Linked DNA regions of Homo sapiens: regions 1, 2, 3, 4, 5 and 6 are each linked to region 7. Evidence: promoter capture Hi-C in 16 types of primary human blood cells and fetal thymus (Javierre and others, 2016). All regions are on one chromosome and are shown on one strand. Each heading gives the region's core, a stretch centred on a gene start or on the middle of the fragment in contact. The rest is flanking DNA. Distances are from core to core; before and after follow the strand shown.

Evidence for each region. Contacts are between HindIII fragments. The CHiCAGO score rates a contact against its expected background, and 5 or more counts as called.
Region 1: a contact is called between a fragment that was not itself captured here and the fragment with the promoter of OR2T4 in region 7, in 1 of 17 cell types (M2 macrophages). The highest score is 5.3, in M2 macrophages.
Region 2: a fragment that was not itself captured here is called in contact with the fragment with the promoter of OR2T4 in region 7 in 4 of 17 cell types (non-activated CD4 T cells, naive CD4 T cells, naive CD8 T cells and 1 more); the score reaches 7.2 in non-activated CD4 T cells.
Region 3: a fragment that was not itself captured here is called in contact with the fragment with the promoter of OR2T4 in region 7 in 6 of 17 cell types (naive CD4 T cells, total CD4 T cells, activated CD4 T cells and 3 more); the score reaches 11.1 in naive CD4 T cells.
Region 4: a fragment that was not itself captured here is called in contact with the fragment with the promoter of OR2T4 in region 7 in 2 of 17 cell types (naive CD8 T cells and naive CD4 T cells); the score reaches 7.4 in naive CD8 T cells.
Region 5: a contact is called between a fragment that was not itself captured here and the fragment with the promoter of OR2T4 in region 7, in 4 of 17 cell types (naive CD4 T cells, naive CD8 T cells, activated CD4 T cells and 1 more). The highest score is 7.1, in naive CD4 T cells.
Region 6: a fragment that was not itself captured here is called in contact with the fragment with the promoter of OR2T4 in region 7 in 5 of 17 cell types (naive CD4 T cells, non-activated CD4 T cells, naive CD8 T cells and 2 more); the score reaches 8.1 in naive CD4 T cells.

Annotation. Positions count from the first base shown.
Region 1 is chr1:247,916,154-247,918,853 of GRCh38, forward strand. No RefSeq gene overlaps it. Among named protein-coding and RNA genes, the nearest start is that of OR2T8, 2.7 kb to the right of the region's middle. The HindIII fragment of the contact is 3,832 bases long and covers 1-2,700 here.
Region 2 is chr1:248,668,815-248,671,514 of GRCh38, forward strand. No RefSeq gene overlaps it. Among named protein-coding and RNA genes, the nearest start is that of OR2T27, 15 kb to the left of the region's middle. The HindIII fragment of the contact is 4,700 bases long and covers 1-2,700 here.
Region 3 is chr1:248,785,598-248,788,297 of GRCh38, forward strand. No RefSeq gene overlaps it. Among named protein-coding and RNA genes, the nearest start is that of LYPD8, 31 kb to the left of the region's middle. The HindIII fragment of the contact is 1,224 bases long and covers 797-2,020 here.
Region 4 is chr1:248,812,598-248,815,297 of GRCh38, forward strand. SH3BP5L (SH3 binding domain protein 5 like) reads right to left here. Exons shown (of 7, transcript NM_030645.3): 5 at 1,852-2,013; 6 at 392-565. Among named protein-coding and RNA genes, the nearest start is that of SH3BP5L, 12 kb to the right of the region's middle. The HindIII fragment of the contact is 6,170 bases long and covers 1-2,700 here.
Region 5 is chr1:248,691,353-248,694,052 of GRCh38, forward strand. All of the region lies in intron 3 of OR14I1 (olfactory receptor family 14 subfamily I member 1), which reads right to left. Among named protein-coding and RNA genes, the nearest start is that of OR14I1, 10 kb to the right of the region's middle. The HindIII fragment of the contact is 9,246 bases long and covers 1-2,700 here.
Region 6 is chr1:248,712,466-248,715,165 of GRCh38, forward strand. No RefSeq gene overlaps it. Among named protein-coding and RNA genes, the nearest start is that of OR14I1, 11 kb to the left of the region's middle. The HindIII fragment of the contact is 1,125 bases long and covers 698-1,822 here.
Region 7 is chr1:248,360,351-248,363,050 of GRCh38, forward strand. OR2T4 (olfactory receptor family 2 subfamily T member 4) reads left to right here and starts at 1,315. Exons shown (of 1, transcript NM_001004696.2): 1 at 1,315-2,277. The coding sequence starts at 1,315. The coding sequence ends at 2,277. The HindIII fragment of the contact is 1,770 bases long and covers 1,201-2,700 here.

The DNA of each region.
Region 1 (2,700 bases), core at 197-2,696, 440 kb before region 7:
GCATAGCCTCTCTTTGGTTTTCGTAAATTGTGCCACATAGTAGTTAATCTCAACTCAGCTACCCAGCATCGCTGTCCTTTCCGTTTTTCTGTGGAGCTCTGGGCAGTACATACATCTTTTTCTCATCTGACTCACAGCTTGTCTGGCCTTAATTCTCACACACCCTAGAGTCCTTCAGAGAGATTTATCTACTTAAGGCAAAAGGCTACTTCCCCCATTGGACAGTAGCCACCTGTGTTACTACACCATTGTATTGATACTCCTGGGACCCCAGAGACATCAGTGTTCAGAACATGGAAAGATAAAACTTTTATCATAAGTGATAGGTAAACTTTCATTGAAAGTTTTATTTGTTACTTGATATACTAAATATCTACAACCTACTGCTTGCACTCAGCCAGGAATTTGTTTTTTTCCACAGGAAATAAGATAACCTGACTTTAACTGTAGACTGCATGTGATCAATAACATTCTAAATCAGAGTAGGATTAGCCACTTCAGTAAGATACAACATGCAAAGGCAGAGGTGTCACTAAAATCTATGATGGGCTTGCCTTCTAAACACAAACAATGGTGATTACAACTTCACTTGGAATAAGCAATTACAATATCTCACGTTTTGTCTAGGAGCAGCTTTCCCCATGATCTATTCCATGAGAAATTTTGTTTAAATATATTTTTTTTTACAGTTTTGGAGGCTGAGATTTATATATACTGGCAGTGAAGCCTGAGTCCACTAAACTTGCAAAAGCTGGAGCCAGGATCCCAAGGGTGCTTGACAGTAGAAAATATTAAGAACAAATAACACAATCATAGAAGGCAGCCCCAGATAAAATCAAACCGCAAACTGCCTGGCACAGTGAATACAATCTGTTGTTACTATTGTTGCTATCACTGATTTTATTACATAGATACAAACACACAAAATATTAAAAAATACAATTATATCACACAGATGCAAAAATATTGATACTTATAAAGCAGCAGAGATTCTGTCAAGTTTAGTTCAATAAGGAAACTACCATGGATTCTACCACGGTTTCTTTTTATTTCAACTACTTTCTTTGACAAGAGCTGGTCTTTCAATATCACACTGTTTAATCTTCCCATCCTATTAAACTACACACAAGTAACGCCAGAGCCACATTACCTCGCCCCTTAATGTATTTTTCAACATCATCTTTTCCATGCACATCTATTTACATTTCATTTTTGCTCCTAAATAATTCTCTCTTCTTTCAATAAATCGCAGCTTTCCAAAAGCATTTTGGAAGTATATTAAAATTATGGGTATTTATAAAATGTCCCTGAAAATTAAACATCTTTGGCAGCCAAAGTGGCAAGCTCATGCCTCTCTGGTTTATTAATCAGAGTTGATTTAGGTCACACCCCTAAACAGTAGACTGTAGACACTGATACAAGTGAAGCCAACACAGCCAGGCTGGAAGAGCTTTTCTCGATGCTGCTCAGACAGGATCCAGCCTTTTGGGAGGAGTCATCACTTTTATCTTCTGTAAGTAGAAAATCTGTGATTCTGTAAATACTAATCACTTAATATTTAATAATTTTCCTGTAAAGTTTGAACTCTAGATAATTCACAGCTATATATCTTTACGTATTTTACAAATAAAATTCTATTATCCATTCTACAACCTGAAGAATCAAAAGTTGCTAGCTGACACAGTCATCAGGTTAAATTCCTGTAATAACCTGTCAATTTTGTCAAATATATGATTTGGCTGTTTCCAATTTATTTTCTGACAGGACAAATTGATTAATCATTTTAGTATCATGGGGAGGAGAGTTACAGTTTTACTATTAAGTTTTGGCAACAGGGATCAGAAAAGCACAGAATGGAATGTTAGAGGCATTGTTCTCAGTGTTCTGTGATTACTTGACGAATTATTGATGAGAAAAAAGGAAGGGATATATACGTGCCTTCTACTAGCATTGCAAAAGAGATCAGTGTGATTTAAAGTAAAAATGTCCACATTTTATCACCATTCTAAGTAAGAAACTATGGGGACAGAAGAAAATATAGTTCAAAATTCTCTAGCTTTCTAAGCTATAGTGAAGAAAGAAAAGGAAAATATTTATTTTTCAGGGTAATACTTTATCATACTTCTTTCTACACTAGTCAATCTTGAATTTTCAACCCTCTGTTAAATGAAATTATAGACATTTTATTAGCAAGATTATTTAATTCTTCATTTTTCATTTAACTGTTCTTTGTATCCATGGCCAATTTTTAAAAAAAATTATCCCAAATAATCATTTTTGTAGGTTTATAAACATTTTAATTAGTGGCAAATTATCTTAGCTTTGTAACATAAAAATATAGACAGTAATTTCAATAAAGCAAATAATTTAATATTATCACATCGTAGAAAAATACAGTTATCTACTAATTTTATTTAACACATTTAATTAATCATTTCGTGAAATAATCTGAATGCTATGGCATGATGACCAGTTAGACTGATACAAACTGATAATTTTTATACACCTGGAAATAAAGAATTTTTATTCCACATAAACATAAAGAATAGAAATATTATCTATTTTCACTGAAAAGGTACAAGCTAATGACATCAAATTTTACAAACTATTTAACCATAGTAGGAACTTCATAATAAGAAAATGTATTTCCTGAACTGAAAAGTCATGCAAGTTGTTGAGATTATTCTCTGAAAACATATG
Region 2 (2,700 bases), core at 73-2,572, 310 kb after region 7:
TCTGTTCTGGCACATTTTTAAACTGATGGGTAAATTCAGAGCTCAAAGTTGACCTGCAACTATAGAATTAAATATAGCATCTCCTAAATTCTCAATTTCTCTATTTTATTTTTCTGTTTTAAATGTACTGTTGCTTTTCTACTGGTTTTGAGATAAAACCCATTGTTTAAATTAAACCATCTTTTGCAAGCTGGTGAATCTGTATTGCTGTCTTGTGACTAGAGTTCTGAAATAAAACCTATGGGATCTTTGTATCTGTGTATCTATGTTGAGTTGTGTTTATGTTACATGTACATGTATTTTCTTATATGTTGTAACTGCAAGGTATCAAATGGGCTTAAAAATAAAGGATTACTCATAAAGTCCAAATGCTCTTCAAGTTCACATGACAAGTAAATCTTCAATAAATAAGCTGGCTTTATAATTATTAGTAAAATAAAATTTGAAATGCCTTCAGAATTGTCAGCATACATTTTTGTCTGGATTTATTGGTGAAATAGTTTTATATTTAGCGGTGTTTGTATTATAAGGTACCAAACTTTGTCATGAAGGTTATAAAACTTTAAAACCCATCCCTTAATGATCATTGTGTAATTTTTTATAAATAAGACATTTAATACTGTTGATTTATTGAAAATAGGTAAAACCTTAGTGGTTGGCCAAAAAAAAATCAAATAAACATATATTTAACATTTGGTTCTTATGTAGGTAAACACCTGAAATATTCACAGCCTATAAGAATGGTTAGCTGAAAAATAACTTTAATGATGACTAGCTTTGTCTAATATGTCAGTTTTTGTAAGTAACCTAGGAAAACTGTTTTAAAAAATAAATTAGGTAGCTTTAATGGCATAAATGCTTATAAATGAACTTGTCATATAATTTAAAATCTTAAAGTTAAAGTAAATAATACTCATTAAGTGTCTGGATCATTTCTAATTTAAAAAACAGAAAAACATATTTCTAAAATAATATAAAATGGTTCTCATCTATAAAATACTGATATATGACAGACAATTCAAGATTTACTACTTCCTAGGTTTTCACAAAAATTTAAGGTTCTAAGAATAAAAATTCTAGTTAATATATAATTCTGTATTTAGAGAGTACCAAAGTAAATATTTTTATGGAAAAGAAATTATAATAAAGACATAAAAATATGTTCTTATTAAAAGGAAAATAATCTTTGTCAAATTCAAAGGCTATTATACAAATCCAAAGATGTATTTATTTTTAAAAATGGGTAAAAAGTATAATTTTGTATGAGAAAGAGACTTGTATAGTAAATGTAGTTCTAAAATAAAACAACTCATTATTTAAGAGGGAAATTTTGGACAAAACAGAAAGTCCAAGTATGTCATAAATAGTCTGTGTAAGATATGATAAGGTTTATAAAGAGAATTTATGAAAGAAAAGTTTTTGGAGACTAAAGCTACTCTTTCTTAGATGGGAGGCTCAAGTAACTCCATCTTGAATGGTGATCTGCCCTATTGGCTTCTGATTAACTCCAGGGGGGAAGGCCTTTAAGATTTCCAGTTTATTTATTGCTCCTCGTGTAAGAACAGGTACTTATTATAAATCCTGCCCTTAGGTCAAACAACTTTTATGTTATCATACTTCAATTGTCCTACACATGCCTTCTGAATCATTCCTTCCCTATGGCATATAAGTCCTGGGTTTTGGGGTTAATGGCACAGGAATTTGCCATCTCATCTCACTGCTGCCTGAGACACACACATGGCTTCTGTTCATAAGTCCCTATTAATTGTTTCTGCCTAAGAAACTGTATTTATCAGCCTCTATCTTCAGCATCTCAGCTTCCTCCAACTTTGGATAGGTTTGTATAGACCTGCTCATTGTGAAACAATTTTGTATGTGACTAAGTTGTCGATAACTTAAAAAGAATTATTTGTATTAGTGTTTCTAGAGATTGGGATTTAATATTAAAAATACACAAATAGAAAAACTACCTATAGGGTACTATGCTTATTACTTGGAAGATGAAATAATCTGTACACCAATCCCTTGTGACATGCAATTTACCTATATGACACCTACACAAGTACTTCTGAACCTATGTAATTGGATTGTTTGTAATGCAAAGGATAAATGCTTAAGAAGATAAATGCCGCATCCTCCATGATGGGCTTATTTCACACTGCATGCCTGTATCAAAACATCTCATGTATTCCACAAATATATACACCTAACATATACCCACAGAAATTTTGAAAAATAATTTGTGGATTAAAACCAAAATGACACTCTAAAAAAATTAATTTTTTATGTAGCAGTATTCAGATGTGGGGCCTTTAAGAGGTGATTTGGTTGTGAGGCCTCTGCTCTCATAAATGAATTAATTAATTCATGGATTAATGGATTATCATAGAAGTGAGATTAACTTTATAAGAAGAAGAGAGATCTTGGCTAGCACATCAGACTGCTCAGCTCCCTCATCATGTAATGTCCTGTGCCACCTCATGCTCTGCAGGGAATCCACACTGGCAGAAGTGTCCCCACTGGTCCACCTGAGGCTCTGCAGGGAGTCCCCGCTGGCAGAAGGGTCCCCACTGGTCCACCTTAGGTTCTGCAGGGAGTCTGCGCTGGCAGGAGGGTCCCCACTGGTCCGCCTGAGGCTGTGCAGGGAGTCCGTGCTGGCAGGAGGGTCCCCACTGGTCTGCCTGAGGCTCTGCAGGGAGT
Region 3 (2,700 bases), core at 159-2,658, 430 kb after region 7:
GCATCTTGTGCAGAGCAAACAAGAGCAAAAAAATTAAAAAAGTAAAAAAAGTAAAATAAAAAAAAGTCAATCCTCTCTGTACATATGCGTAGCTGCATTCTTGGAAAATTCAGCCCAAAAGCTATGTTGCCAGATGCTTTGCATTCGTATGTAAGACTGATTTAGGTTCTAAGCCCCAATCATTATAACTTTTGTCCACCTAGACATTCTACAGTCTGTGAAAGATTGGGACAATCTTTTGTTGTTCAGGACCATCCCCAAAGTTACAAGATGTCTAGCATCCCTATTTCCTGCCCATGAAATTGCATGAGTCACCACTGCCACTAATAATAATTGTAATCATGCTAAAACACCTCCATAAATCACCAAAACACTTCCCAGGGGATTGCACCTCCCTGTTGACAACAACTACCTGATTGTTAAAGGGTTTTGTTAATGAAAAGGTCAGTATTGACAGAAATAAAAAAGAACGCATCCATCAGCTCTGATTGGTGGATGAGACGGGAGTTAATAGCCACAGATTTCCAAAAGAACATGTCAATAATTGTACAATCATGTCTTGGTGTATCAGTCACATGGATTAGATTATGTTGCCGTAGAAACCTCCACACCCTAAGTTCCAGTGGCCTAACAATGTCTCCCCCACGCTCCATGTCTGATTGGCATTGACAGAAGCACCCTGCTCATCCTTATGACTCAGCACCTCTGACTGGTAGAGCTTTACCTTACCACATGAGTTCATTTTCACAACTGCAGTAGAAAGAGGATGAGGTGAACCTCCTAAAGTGGCTTCTAAAGCTTCCCCTAAAAAGTGGCAAATGTCACTTCTTGCCAGAGCTAGTGTCAAAGTCATTTTGCGACACACAGAGGGTGGGGAAGTGCAATCCAACATACATTCAGGAGGGGAAAGAAATAAACATTTAGTGATTAGCTCTGATGACTACTCTGATGGATTCAAACTCAGTGCCCACGTACTAACTGTGCAACAAGTGCATATTGCTCGGCCTTTGCAAATCTGTTTCCTCATCAGTAATAGTAACAAAAATCATAGTAGCTGCTGCTTATTGGTCCCTTATTGTGTGTACTAAACATTTGACATTTCACTGGGTTGACAGAAAACTTACAGGGTAAATGAGGAACATAATATATTTTAACAGCAATGTCATGAAAACTAAACAAGATAATGTATGCAAACAGTAGCTGGTGCTTGAATAATTACAACTGAGTTCAGCTCTGTGAAAGGTACGGTAAGAGGTGGGGAAGAATAGGCCAGGAGGCTCAAGAGAAGACGTCAAAGACGTAGACATAACCTTCAAGAAGGATATGGGCATTTGGGAAGATAAGACATGAGTGCAGAAAACTGTAAGATATTCTTCTTGCTGTGGCAACTCTGAGGAAGAATACAAACAGGTTGTGAGGAAGCAGAAAAGGAAGAAAGGGGACACCAAGCTAGGGTGAAGAATAAGCTGAGGTATAAAGACAGATTGAGATTCCAGGGTCTAGGGGGAGGGACCCCTATGTCACATGTGGCGAGGGCATGGAGAAGAGTTTCTGAGAGTTCTCAGTTATGTTATGCTATCTTGAGTTATCCTCCCAATGGATCTGGGTTTTCCCACATACTTGTAATCAGCTCCCGCTGGCATCAACATTAACACTTGTCTAATCCAATCCCCTCTTTTTCAGATAAGAAGTCTGAGGCTCAGCAAACATATAAAATTTGGCTGAAGCTGAATGACAATTGATCTGGGTTTCCTAGTTCTCTCTAATGCCTGTTGCTCTCACCCCCACCAACTGCCATCCCTGGCCACTGTCCCATCTCCCCAGTTCTGAGATGAATATCCAGGAGTGTGCTCTTGTATCCATGCAGGGTCTGGGAGAAGATATTAATATATCCAGAGAAACACTGACCCTCCCTGGGGAACATTATACCCTCCTGCCTCATTGATGTCAGACATGGTCAAATGACTTGCTCCCATCAGTGCAACGTGAGCGGCAGTGATGTGTGTCCCTTTGTAGCAGAAGCTTTCAGGAATAGTCTGTGGTTTGCGGTGCTCCCTTTTCACTCCACATGACAACTAGTGATTCTTCATGCAGAGTCTTCTCCACCAGCTGGGTCCCAGGTTAAGATGACACAGAGTAGAAATGCAGCTTACTCAGATAACATAAACAAGAAATAAATATTTAATGTTTTAGCTTCTGGCACCTTGGGGTCACTTGCGATAGCACCATTACCTAGCCTATCCTGACTCACATATGTGACACAGCTATTTTCTCTCACTTGCTATCGACACTGCTGGCTAAAGACCATGAAGGTTCTATGCCACAGCATGTACCTTACACAAAAGTAAAAGGTATGTTTCTACTCTCTAAATCCTCAAGACGTGGGACACAGACCAGGAGTGGAAACAGTTGAAACACAAATGTGGAATACAACTGAGCAGGTGCATTCATCAACATGGGGCACATTCAAATGTCCTAATCTTCTGGGCTGTTCATGGATAATTTTCTTCAGAAGGGTCTTTTGAGAAAGGTTAGAATGGTGAAGGGTGGCACATCCAATTTTCTCCTTCTAAAGAAAATGGCAGGAAGGAAGAGAAGCCTGGGCAGGGGCAAAGCTGTTCCTTAATCACTGTCATCCCAGGCAAGAAGTTTTATTGCTACCCACCCTTAATAACATATGGATAGACGCAGGTCAAAGAG
Region 4 (2,700 bases), core at 109-2,608, 450 kb after region 7:
TGCTCCTGACCTGAGCCCCACCTTCCAGAGCCTTCCTCTCAGGCCTTCCTCTCCACCAGCTCCTGCTTCCTCATCCTCTCCCCACTGTTCCCTTTCACCCAATGGCTGGTTCTTCTTCCCCATCCCAGATTTCCACCAGTTCTTTTCCTCTTGTTTACCTCCCTTCTTCCAACTACGTTCTCGCCGTCACCAGCCCCCATCACCAGCCCCCATCCCTGCCTCTCACTCCTGCAAGGTCATTTGGAACATGTGTGCCACCACCCTTCCCCACCGCTAGCCGGAGGCCTCACCCTGGCCACCTCACCAAGATGGCCCAGAGAGGCCGACCAGCATCCCCTCCAGCCTGCACCCCCACCTACCCATTCCTCCTCCCCCTCACCCACTCAGCTACCTCCAGGATCTGGCTGAACTGGGCCTTGAGCTCAAAGTAGGGGCGGCTCTTGCCGATGGCCCTCCGGAGGGTCTTCTGCAGGGCTTGGACCCGAGCCTCAGCCTGTTGGCACAGCCGAGTCACTCGCTGGTGCTCCCGCTCACCTCGAAGCCGCTCTTCCTCCGCCTCATTCACCTGGCCCAGAGGACACATCACTGAGCCAGGACCCATGCTTCAGTCTCTGGCATCTGCCCCAGGCTGCCAATCTGAACAACGCCCTGGGGGGAACCCAAACAGGAACATCCTCTGCAAACCCCCAACTGTGTACAGAGCCCGAGACACGCAGGGGAACACGGGGTCTATGAGCCTCAAGACAGCTTATTTCTGTCTCTCTTGGATCTGCTGCCTGACCGTCGAGGACCACATCACAGGCACATGCCTCTGAGCCACGTCTTCCCCATGTTCTTGCCTAGTGTCACCTGCACCACTGGCTACTCAGCTTTGCTGCTGCCAGGAAAGGGATGCTGGTGCCCACTCAACCACTTGAGAGCATCAGGGGAATGTCTGTCAGCACATCACACATCTGCAGCAGCCATTCTCTTCAGGGAGCCCTCAGCGCCAATGGTTAGGGATCTGGGAGTGAGAAGAGCCTGTGTGGGGAGCCACAGCTGTGCGCTGGGTTCTCCAGGTTTCCACACCCTATGTGGGCACCGTCCAGGACAAGTGGGCCGAGGTTGGATGGGGCTCTGGCGTGCTTCTGCTCAGGGTGTTGTACAGTTGGCCCACTTGTCCTGGTAGACAAAGCGGCTGGAGCCCTCACCTGCTCCCTGTTCAGGTGTAGCTCTACACTATACACCATCCCCTAACCCCTCCCCCCGTGCTGTGTGCTCTCATTTGCATGAGCTCTAGAGTAGAAGTGAGGTGCCTGTTCTGTGTGAGGGGCAGATGAAGAATCACAAGCCACAAACACCCCCTCGAGTTGCTGACACCTGCCCTGTGCAAGCTGAAGGTGGCAGACAGGGCCAACGGCAGAGATCCTTCCGCTCCCCAGTCCCCTTTCAGGAGCTTGGAAATGATACATAAATTATACTTCAAAACTCGAGGTGTACTGTCAGAGCTCAAAAGCAGGAAAGGGAGCAGACTCTGAAAACAGAAGCGAGGAGTCACACAGCTAAACATAATAAAATGTGAATGTTGAATCCTCAGTATCCACCAGGGATGAATTGTTTGGGTTAGTCCCACACCTGGAGGCAAACGTTCAAGAAGAGCCCGGGATGACATTCTAAGTCAGAGGGAAATGGAATATGGGAAGCAATGGAGGCCAAACAGAACAGAAAACTAGGAACAGGTTTTGCCTGAAACAGAATCAAAGTTGAAAGAAGGCTAGAATAGAGGGAAGAATGAGGAGGTGAGGTGATAAAGACATAGCAAAGGATGGACGAGAACCAGCGAAGGGGACCTGCTGGCACCGCCCGGCTCACCTTGCAGGTAGCATGGTTCAGCATCTCCTGCCACGTGGGGTCCAGTCGGTTCTTGTCAGCCATGACGCCCTGCTCAGCCACAAACACCATTTCTCGAGCAGCGTTGTGCATGCTTACGGCCCGCTCGTACCGCAGCGCTGCCTTCTGTGTCTCCTGCTGAGCCTGGGGGGAGAGGGATATCAGGATGGGGAACCCTGAGGGACCCCAGCTGCCCATGGAGACCCATAATAGACGTGAGGATAAGAGAAGGAGGAAGGCCTACTAGCAATGTCGGCTTCATTTCCCAAACTGTGCTGAGGATAAATGCCAAGGAAGCAACATTCTATAAAGAATATTTCATAAGGATATGGACTAGAAGAAATAAAAATTTTGCCAGTGGAGGGTAGATGTGTGAAATCCAGCACTCCCAAAGGCTGCTAGCCTTTTCCCCTAGGGAAAACAAAGGAAAACACAAACCATTTTAGTGTAAGGTGGTTAGCAACATAGACAGAGTCTTACAGAAAAGATGACCTTGAGACCATCAATTCCATGTTCAGCAGGCAAGCTGAAGGAAGTAATCAGACAAGTGCTCAGGGACAGTCATCATAGCCATACCAACCAAGCAAAAAACAAAACAAACCTAACTTTTCAGTTATAGGACATCGGTTAAATAAATAATAGTACATCTAATATAAGAAAATAAGCTGGGCGCAGTGGCTTCTGCCTGTGAGCCCATCTACTTGTGAGGCTGAGGGAGGAGGATTACTTGAGCCTAGGAGTTTGAGGTTACAGTGAGCTATGATCACACCATTGCACTCCAGTCTGGGCAACAGAGCAAGACCCCATTTCTTAAAAAAATAAAATATTAAT
Region 5 (2,700 bases), core at 17-2,516, 330 kb after region 7:
GTTAGAAAATATTCTGAGGTGCCAGAATTGCACTAGATGCATTGATGACTTGGAGGGTATTGGTAGGGTAGAATGTTCCCGTCAGAGAATTAAGTATATAGGTACCCTTTCCTCAAAAATGCTTAGACTAGGTAGGGAAGAGGGTGAGGCACAATAGCATATCTTTAATTGGGTGGGGTGAGAACCAAAGAATCGGAAAAACAGACATTCCAGCTCCTCCAAGTTCTTCCAATCGTCAGAACTGTGGAACTAGCCCACCAGGCTTTCTCCAGTCACGTGAGCCGGGAGCCACCAGGATCTCATTGGCCAAGGCTCCCAGAGGGCGGGAAGAGCGGGAAGTGAGGACCAATGGGGCAGGCCAAAGGGACTGTGGAGGCCGACGCATGCGCAGTGCCCTCCGGCCTAGCCCGGCCAACCCGCCTGTCCCGGACCGCCCGGCGTCAGGTACGGGTTCACCAAGCCACCCCGCCCACCTCAGGACGCAGCTGCCGGTCCAGCTGCTCCCGCGGGCCCACAGCGCGCTGTGGAAAGGAGCGGACAGGCCAGAGGCTCTCTCGGGCCTACAAGTCTCTAGGCTAGGCAGTGTTTCCGAGTCCCAGGTGCCTCCAGAGGCCGAGCTCACAGCGCGGCCCACCCAGCATCCGGGGGCGCTGTGAGGGGCGCTCGCCCAGCAGCGGAAAGGCCATTCGCGTGGCGCGGGAGCGCGGGCCCGGCCGCCTGGGCGTGTCCCTTTCGCGGAACTGAGCTCACTGGCTCCTCTCTTCCAGACGGAGCGACGGGGCCGGCCGCAGCCTCAGCCACGCGTCCCTCGGTGGCGGGCAGGCTCCTCTTGGCCTGCAGCCTTACTTTCATGCCCTTCTTCACAGGTGAGCGGATGGCTTGGGGTCCTCCCGCATTTCCCGCAGCGTCGCTCTCTGCATTCCCGCATTCCCAGGTTCCTGCTGCATTCGTGAATTCCCTCCTGCATTCCTGTACTCTCCACTCTTCCAGCCTGCATTCCCACATTTCCACCCTCATTCCTGCATTCCCAACTGCATCCCCCAACGTTGCCACTTTCTCCCCATCGTTCCCACCTGCGTTTCCGCATTCCCACATCCCTGCTCTGATTCCCACCCGCATTTCTGAATCCCCACCTGCTTTCTCTACCCCAGTCCAGCCTTTATTCCGGCATTTCTGCCTTCATTCTCGCGTTCCCAGCCACATTCCCCTTTGCATTCTGCAGACCTCCAATCACCTTTCTTTGTTGGGCAGTGTACTCATCAGCACGGCATAAGGAAAGAGCAGACACGGCTCCTGCCCTCATAATGCTTACAGTCTACAGAACAGTGCTGGGGACACAGTCCTGAGTGTTGCCTTCTGATCAACCACTTAACTGACTGCCTGGCCTCAGGAAAGCAGCTGAGCTTATCTGTTCTTAGGTATCCTTATTAGAGTACTAAGAATATTGGTTCCTGCCTATTATAGTTGTAAGGAACATGTGAGCTAGTAAAGGGCTGACACAATGCCTGGCATGTAATAAGCTCTCATTAAAGAGAGCTTTAATGTTTGTCTGTCTTTCTCCAGAGACCACTTCATGTTGGGAGAATTGTGGGGAGAGAAAATGTTCACCAGTGAAACGTGAATCATGAGCCCTCATCCAAGTAGTTCTACTTCCCCGATTTCCCTGAAGGTTATAGGGTACTGTGTGAGCAGCCTCTAACTCTCCCTGGTTGTTCACAGAAGTAAGATGTTCTGGGTCTGCTTATCGGGAGGAGTCATTCAGTTAGTGCCACATAATCATTTTAACATTTCTCCCATTGCTGCCAGGGCATCCTGCATCACCTCCCAAGCCAGCCTCCCACGTCACCTGGGTGGTGTACTAATTCACGGCCAGGAGCACTGACTGTTCCTGCTCCCACGTCACCTGGGTGGTGTACTGATTCACGGCCAGGAGCATTGACTATTCCTGGCCACCTCCTTGCACCTTTCCTGGTTCCCTCAGCCTCTCAAAGTTCTCATCTTTCCTTTGATGAGAAAGAGAAGGGCAGACTGAAAATAGACTCACCACCCACCTGTCCTTTCCCCCTGCCCCATACTGGTGGACCAGCATCACAGTAAAAATAGTTACCACTTAGTAAGAATTCATTATGAGCCAACTTAGGATTTTTGATAAGATAAAAGAGTTCAGCATAATTTTACATAAAATTAGTTTTTTCTTGATATATTTTCTTCTCTTCTGCTTTCCACACCTAATAAAACATTACAGAAAGTCTTGTTTTATTTATTTTGAGGACAGGCCTTAGGTAAAATGTGGAAGTTTATCTTGGAGCTTCCAATCTTCAAGTTCTCTTCTCCTTTCCCCATCCTCTGTCTTCTCCACTCTATCCTATCTTATCTCCTCTAGAGCCCAAACCCAGCCCCACTGATTTTTCTCAATCAAAGCTCATTTAAAAAAAAAAAAAGGATGGGAAAATCGTCGTTCCTCTCACTATGAATAGCTAAGAACAGTGCTATTAACTTGCCTGGTATGCTCTGCATTTTAACAGAAATCAAAGTCCAGAACTTTTTAAAAAAAAAAAAAAAAACCATTTACTGGAATATTGGGCTTAAGAGTGTTTGTGCATTTGGTTGAGAGGGCAGGAAGACCTATCAGTCTGCATGTGGCACACACTCTAATAATTTTCTTCAAGTTCACATGCCATTGCCTTGGGACATCAGGGC
Region 6 (2,700 bases), core at 10-2,509, 350 kb after region 7:
CTGCCTCCTATTCTATTCAGTCACCCCTCTGCTCACTGAGATAAATGCATATCTGATTGCATTTGGTCTTTGGAGGGGCTAGTCAGAAACTCAAAAGAATGTAACCATTTGTCTCTTATCTACCTATGACCTGGGAGTTCCCTCCCTGCTTCGAGTTGTCCTGCCTTTGCTTCGAGTTGTCCTGTCTTTCCAGACTGAACCAATGTTCATCTTACATATGTTGATTGATGTCTCATGTCTCCCTAAAATGTATAAAACCAAACTGCGCTCTGAGCGCCTTGGGCACATGTCCTCAGGACAACCTGAGGCTATGTCCTTTGTGTGCATCCTCAACCTTGGCAAAATGAACTTTTTAAATTAACTGAGACCTATCTCAGATATACAGGATTCACATTTTGTTAACTGTGGAGGGATTCTGAATGGAGATGCCCCTTGACCTTTGAAAAATCTCCTATTGGTGCTTGGTACCCGCATGAGCTAACTTTATGGCTCAAACCAATAGGACAATTTGCTGAGGTCTGGGAGCACCCCCTCCAGATGATACAGGAGCTAGAAAGAAATTATTTAGGCAGTTAATGAGGGTAAGAGAGTCCTTAGCAAGGTTTTGCTTTTAATAAAAAGCAGACCCCAAATCATTTCTTTTCTAACAAAGAGCAGCCTGAAAAATCAAGCTGCAGACATGGAAAAGCAAGCTAGAAGCTTGCATGGGTGAGTGCTGGCAGTTGTGCCAATAGGAAAAGGCTACCTGGGGGCCAGGCATGTTCAACATGGAGGCTCCATCTTCCCTTTTCTCTTTCAATCACATGTACAGTAAAGGAACAGACAACATGGTGCCAGCCAGGTAGGGGACCCATCTGCATAATAAAAGATTAGGATGGGGCTGCCAGCTTCTTTGTGTGCTATGTAAATGGCACACCTGCTCCTCCCAATCTCTCGTCTCCTGTGTAAATCACACTATGCCTCCTCAAGCTAATCCATAAAACCACATGCATTTCATCACGAAACCAGAAGACCCACTTGGAACCCCTTCTCTCTCTGGAGAGAGAGTTTTTTTTCTTTCTCTAGCCTATTAAACTTCCACACTTAACTTCACTCTGGTGTGTTTGTGTCCTTGATTTCCTTGGTGTCAGGCAACAAACCTCAGGTATTACCCCAGACAAACAATACTGCTTCACAGAGAATACCTGATCTCCCAAAATTTGGTTAAGATCTGAAGTTTATTTTGCCGTACAACTCCATTTTTTGAAGTTTTACTTGCTTCCAACAAGGAAGGCAAGATTTCTTGCTTCCATGATGATGGAAGGCAGGTAATTCCTCTATGGAGTTGGAGCTCGCTCCCAACAGGGAAGATGAGTTTGAGTTTTATTCCTGACTCTAGGATGGTAGAGGCTGTCTTCAGCCTGAGACCCATCCCTAAGTAAGTTAACAACCAGCTGTTCCTAATTTCTCTTTACCATTAGAGTGCCCAGTAATCATATTGTTGGGTTTTTTTATTGTTTTTTCCAGACTTTCTTCCATCAGATTTGGTCAAATCTGAGTGAGAATTTCAAATTTTGGGTAACAAAGCCTCTCTAATTTGGCTAAAATTCCTCTCCACTGCACAGGAAGGGAAAAAAACAAACACGTGCTTGGTTTCTGAGCTTGCTTCCTGTCTTAGAAAACAAATATTTTTTCATTCACTTTTCTTTCACACTATACCTCCTTCCCCCTTTGCCATATGCAGTACTACAAAATCTAGAGAAGACTTCTAGTGACTTGAACCCCTTTAAAGAATTCAGAACAAAGGCACCATTCACCCCTTTGGGCGTATTTTTTGGTAAGAAGCTTAAAGAGAAATAATTTTATATGAGAAAGAATCTTGTATGGTATATTTAGTCCTAGAATAAAATGACTGGTTGTTTAAGGAAGAGGGATATTCAGGAGAAAAAAAAAAAAAAAAAAAAAAAGAATTTGAACGTTCAAGCATGTCGTGAATGGTCTGCATAAGTGACAGTAAGAGGATTTACTTAAAAAAAACTGTTATATGATCAAGTTGTCTATTAATTAAAATAAAATTATGATAGTCTATCTAGAGATTGGGCTTGAAGTAAAAAAAGGAAACACACACTAATTAGTTAGAATGATAAAATTTTCTTAGGGGATTGATTTACTCTCAATTATGAAAGAATTTAATTTTTTTAACCAAAAGTTCAAATTTTATTGCATCTTGCCATTTTGGTTTTCTCTGCAGTTTTAAAGGGTGAGAAATAGTAATGCTCTCCAGCTCATTTTTCAGCTTATATAAATTCTTTTCCTCAAGTTCTGTTTGTTGAGGCCTGATGCTAACAATGTTTTCTTAAAGGTCTAAAGGAAATGTTTTCTTCCAACAGAATACTGTATGCAGTACAGCAGGTCTTTTCTTTTGCCTTTTGGTAATTGTCATAACAGATTTTAGGGTTTGTGAAAGCAATTTCTATGCTATTATTATTATTATTAAGTTTTTGTTTGCTTAGGGGAAAAACCAAAATTAAAAGAATTTTTTTATTTAAGGTTATTACATTTGTGTATCTTTCCGTATGGGCTTTTAGAGTCATTGTGACATTGAGTTACAGAGCTTTGACTCCTGGGTCTAAAAAGGACACCAAGTTCTGCTAAATCTTAAACACTGACAGGAATTAAAGCCTCATCTTCAGGCCTGGTAAAAGAAGCCAATCAAAATAA
Region 7 (2,700 bases), core at 65-2,564:
CCCCCCTGAGATTTAATGCGAATGACAGGAGCTTTAAGGAGTTAAGCTTGGAGAAGCATGCACTAGTCACAAAGAAGGTGGATTCTGCATAAATCTCTGCTCAACATGAAAATAAGAGACATACCTTACATTAATATATGCATTTCTATTTGTAAATATGCATATACAATGTATTCTTATATTTGTAAATCTGCACATATATAAAAATGCATATCTATAAATTTATATAAAATAAATGTAAACTGTATACATACAAGTTGTCTGGGACTAGAGAAATTATCAAATCCAAATTCTTACAAGTCTGACTAAATGATAAAATCAGCAAACTGAAGTAATGAAGCTCATATCATAAGATGATTATAGTAATACAGTCTGCAGAATAATTTGTGTAGATATTAACTCTTTGACAGTGTATGTATTTGTTCATTTGTAACTGGTAATATTCTAAGCACTTTCATTACTTTTCTGCATTTAATCTTCATCAACCCTGAGGTCAAACCTTTTCTTACCATCTATTTTTATGTGCAGTAAACAGAGGAATAGCAGGTAGAGGGGAAGCTGGGTCCACCCTGCAGTCCAGCCACGGTCCCTGGGCTCCTCACCCCATGCGACTCTGGTTTCTGAGGAGTCTGGTGTGTAGGAGGACCCTGGCTTGCTCATGGGGATGTGTGGGGTTTTGCTCCACGAAACCACAGAGCCTCACAGCATTGTCCAATACTGTGGGTAGAAGGGTGCAAATGTTTGGTATGGATTTTCCACAAGTGATATTTTAGTCATGTTCTAAATCATTCCTATATGGAATACACTTTTGGGAGTTTTTAAGATTCCAGATGGATCCTTAAACCAGAGAATGTAATTCACTTTAGACTTCTCTAAACAACTCTAAAAACAGGGGGACAAAATTCTCCTTTGTTTTCAATAATTCACTATTCATGTCTGCATAAGGCAGTGACACTGCCAGTTTCCAGGACTTGTTTATAACAGACACTCTCATCGGGAAATCTCATGACTCAGAACTGTGGCAACTTCACTACAAATCACCCTTTTGATCCACAGTTGTGAATTCTTAGTTCCTGGTAAATTTTTTGAATTGCAGATAATTTATAACACCCAAATCTACAGGCCCATGGGCCTTTCTTTGGTTAGAACACACACACACACACACAATTTGTTTCAGAGGCTCAAATTACTTTAACCCCAAGCTTTCCTTTGTGGCCTAGGTGAAACCTCATGGACAACATCACCTGGATGGCCAGCCACACTGGATGGTCGGATTTCATCCTGATGGGACTCTTCAGACAATCCAAACATCCAATGGCCAATATCACCTGGATGGCCAACCACACTGGATGGTCGGATTTCATCCTGTTGGGACTCTTCAGACAATCCAAACATCCAGCACTACTTTGTGTGGTCATTTTTGTGGTTTTCCTGATGGCGTTGTCTGGAAATGCTGTCCTGATCCTTCTGATACACTGTGACGCCCACCTCCACACCCCCATGTACTTTTTCATCAGTCAATTGTCTCTCATGGACATGGCGTACATTTCTGTCACTGTGCCCAAGATGCTCCTGGACCAGGTCATGGGTGTGAATAAGATCTCAGCCCCTGAGTGTGGGATGCAGATGTTCTTCTACGTGACACTAGCAGGTTCAGAATTTTTCCTTCTAGCCACCATGGCCTATGACCGCTACGTGGCCATCTGCCATCCTCTCCGTTACCCTGTCCTCATGAACCATAGGGTGTGTCTCTTCCTGTCATCAGGCTGCTGGTTCCTGGGCTCAGTGGATGGCTTCACATTCACTCCCATCACCATGACCTTCCCCTTCCGTGGATCCCGGGAGATTCATCATTTCTTCTGTGAAGTTCCTGCTGTATTGAATCTCTCCTGCTCAGACACCTCACTCTATGAGATTTTCATGTACTTGTGCTGTGTCCTCATGCTCCTCATCCCTGTGGTGATCATTTCAAGCTCCTATTTACTCATCCTCCTCACCATCCACGGGATGAACTCAGCAGAGGGCCGGAAAAAGGCCTTTGCCACCTGCTCCTCCCACCTGACTGTGGTCATCCTCTTCTATGGGGCTGCCATCTACACCTACATGCTCCCCAGCTCCTACCACACCCCTGAGAAGGACATGATGGTATCTGTCTTCTATACCATCCTCACTCCAGTGGTGAACCCTTTAATCTATAGTCTTAGGAATAAGGATGTCATGGGGGCTCTGAAGAAAATGTTAACAGTGGAACCTGCCTTTCAAAAAGCTATGGAGTAGACCATTTTGAGAGTAATTTACTTTTCCTTCTCTCTGCACTTCACATATGAGAATGTTATACCAGTGTTATTTCCCAGACTCCAAGACTGCCATGGTGTTTGATCTCATTTTCACACCTCTTTTAGAAATCGCTTTCCTGTACTAGAAACTTTTCAATTTACACTCCGTCTCACTTCAAAATGCATTATTCAGTCATATTATATTGATGTTACAGTTACTGAAGTTCATAACTACTTTCTAATTCTATAGGATATTTTCATATTCTGGGAATACATAATGATACTACTTAGAGGATAAAGGTTATAAGGCATAAAATTGAGAGAGAGGGAGAAATGAGGAAGAAAAAGGGTTCATATAGATGTTCTTTGTACTACTTTTATTTATGCTAATTTTCTGTAAAATTGAAATTAATTTTAAATAAAT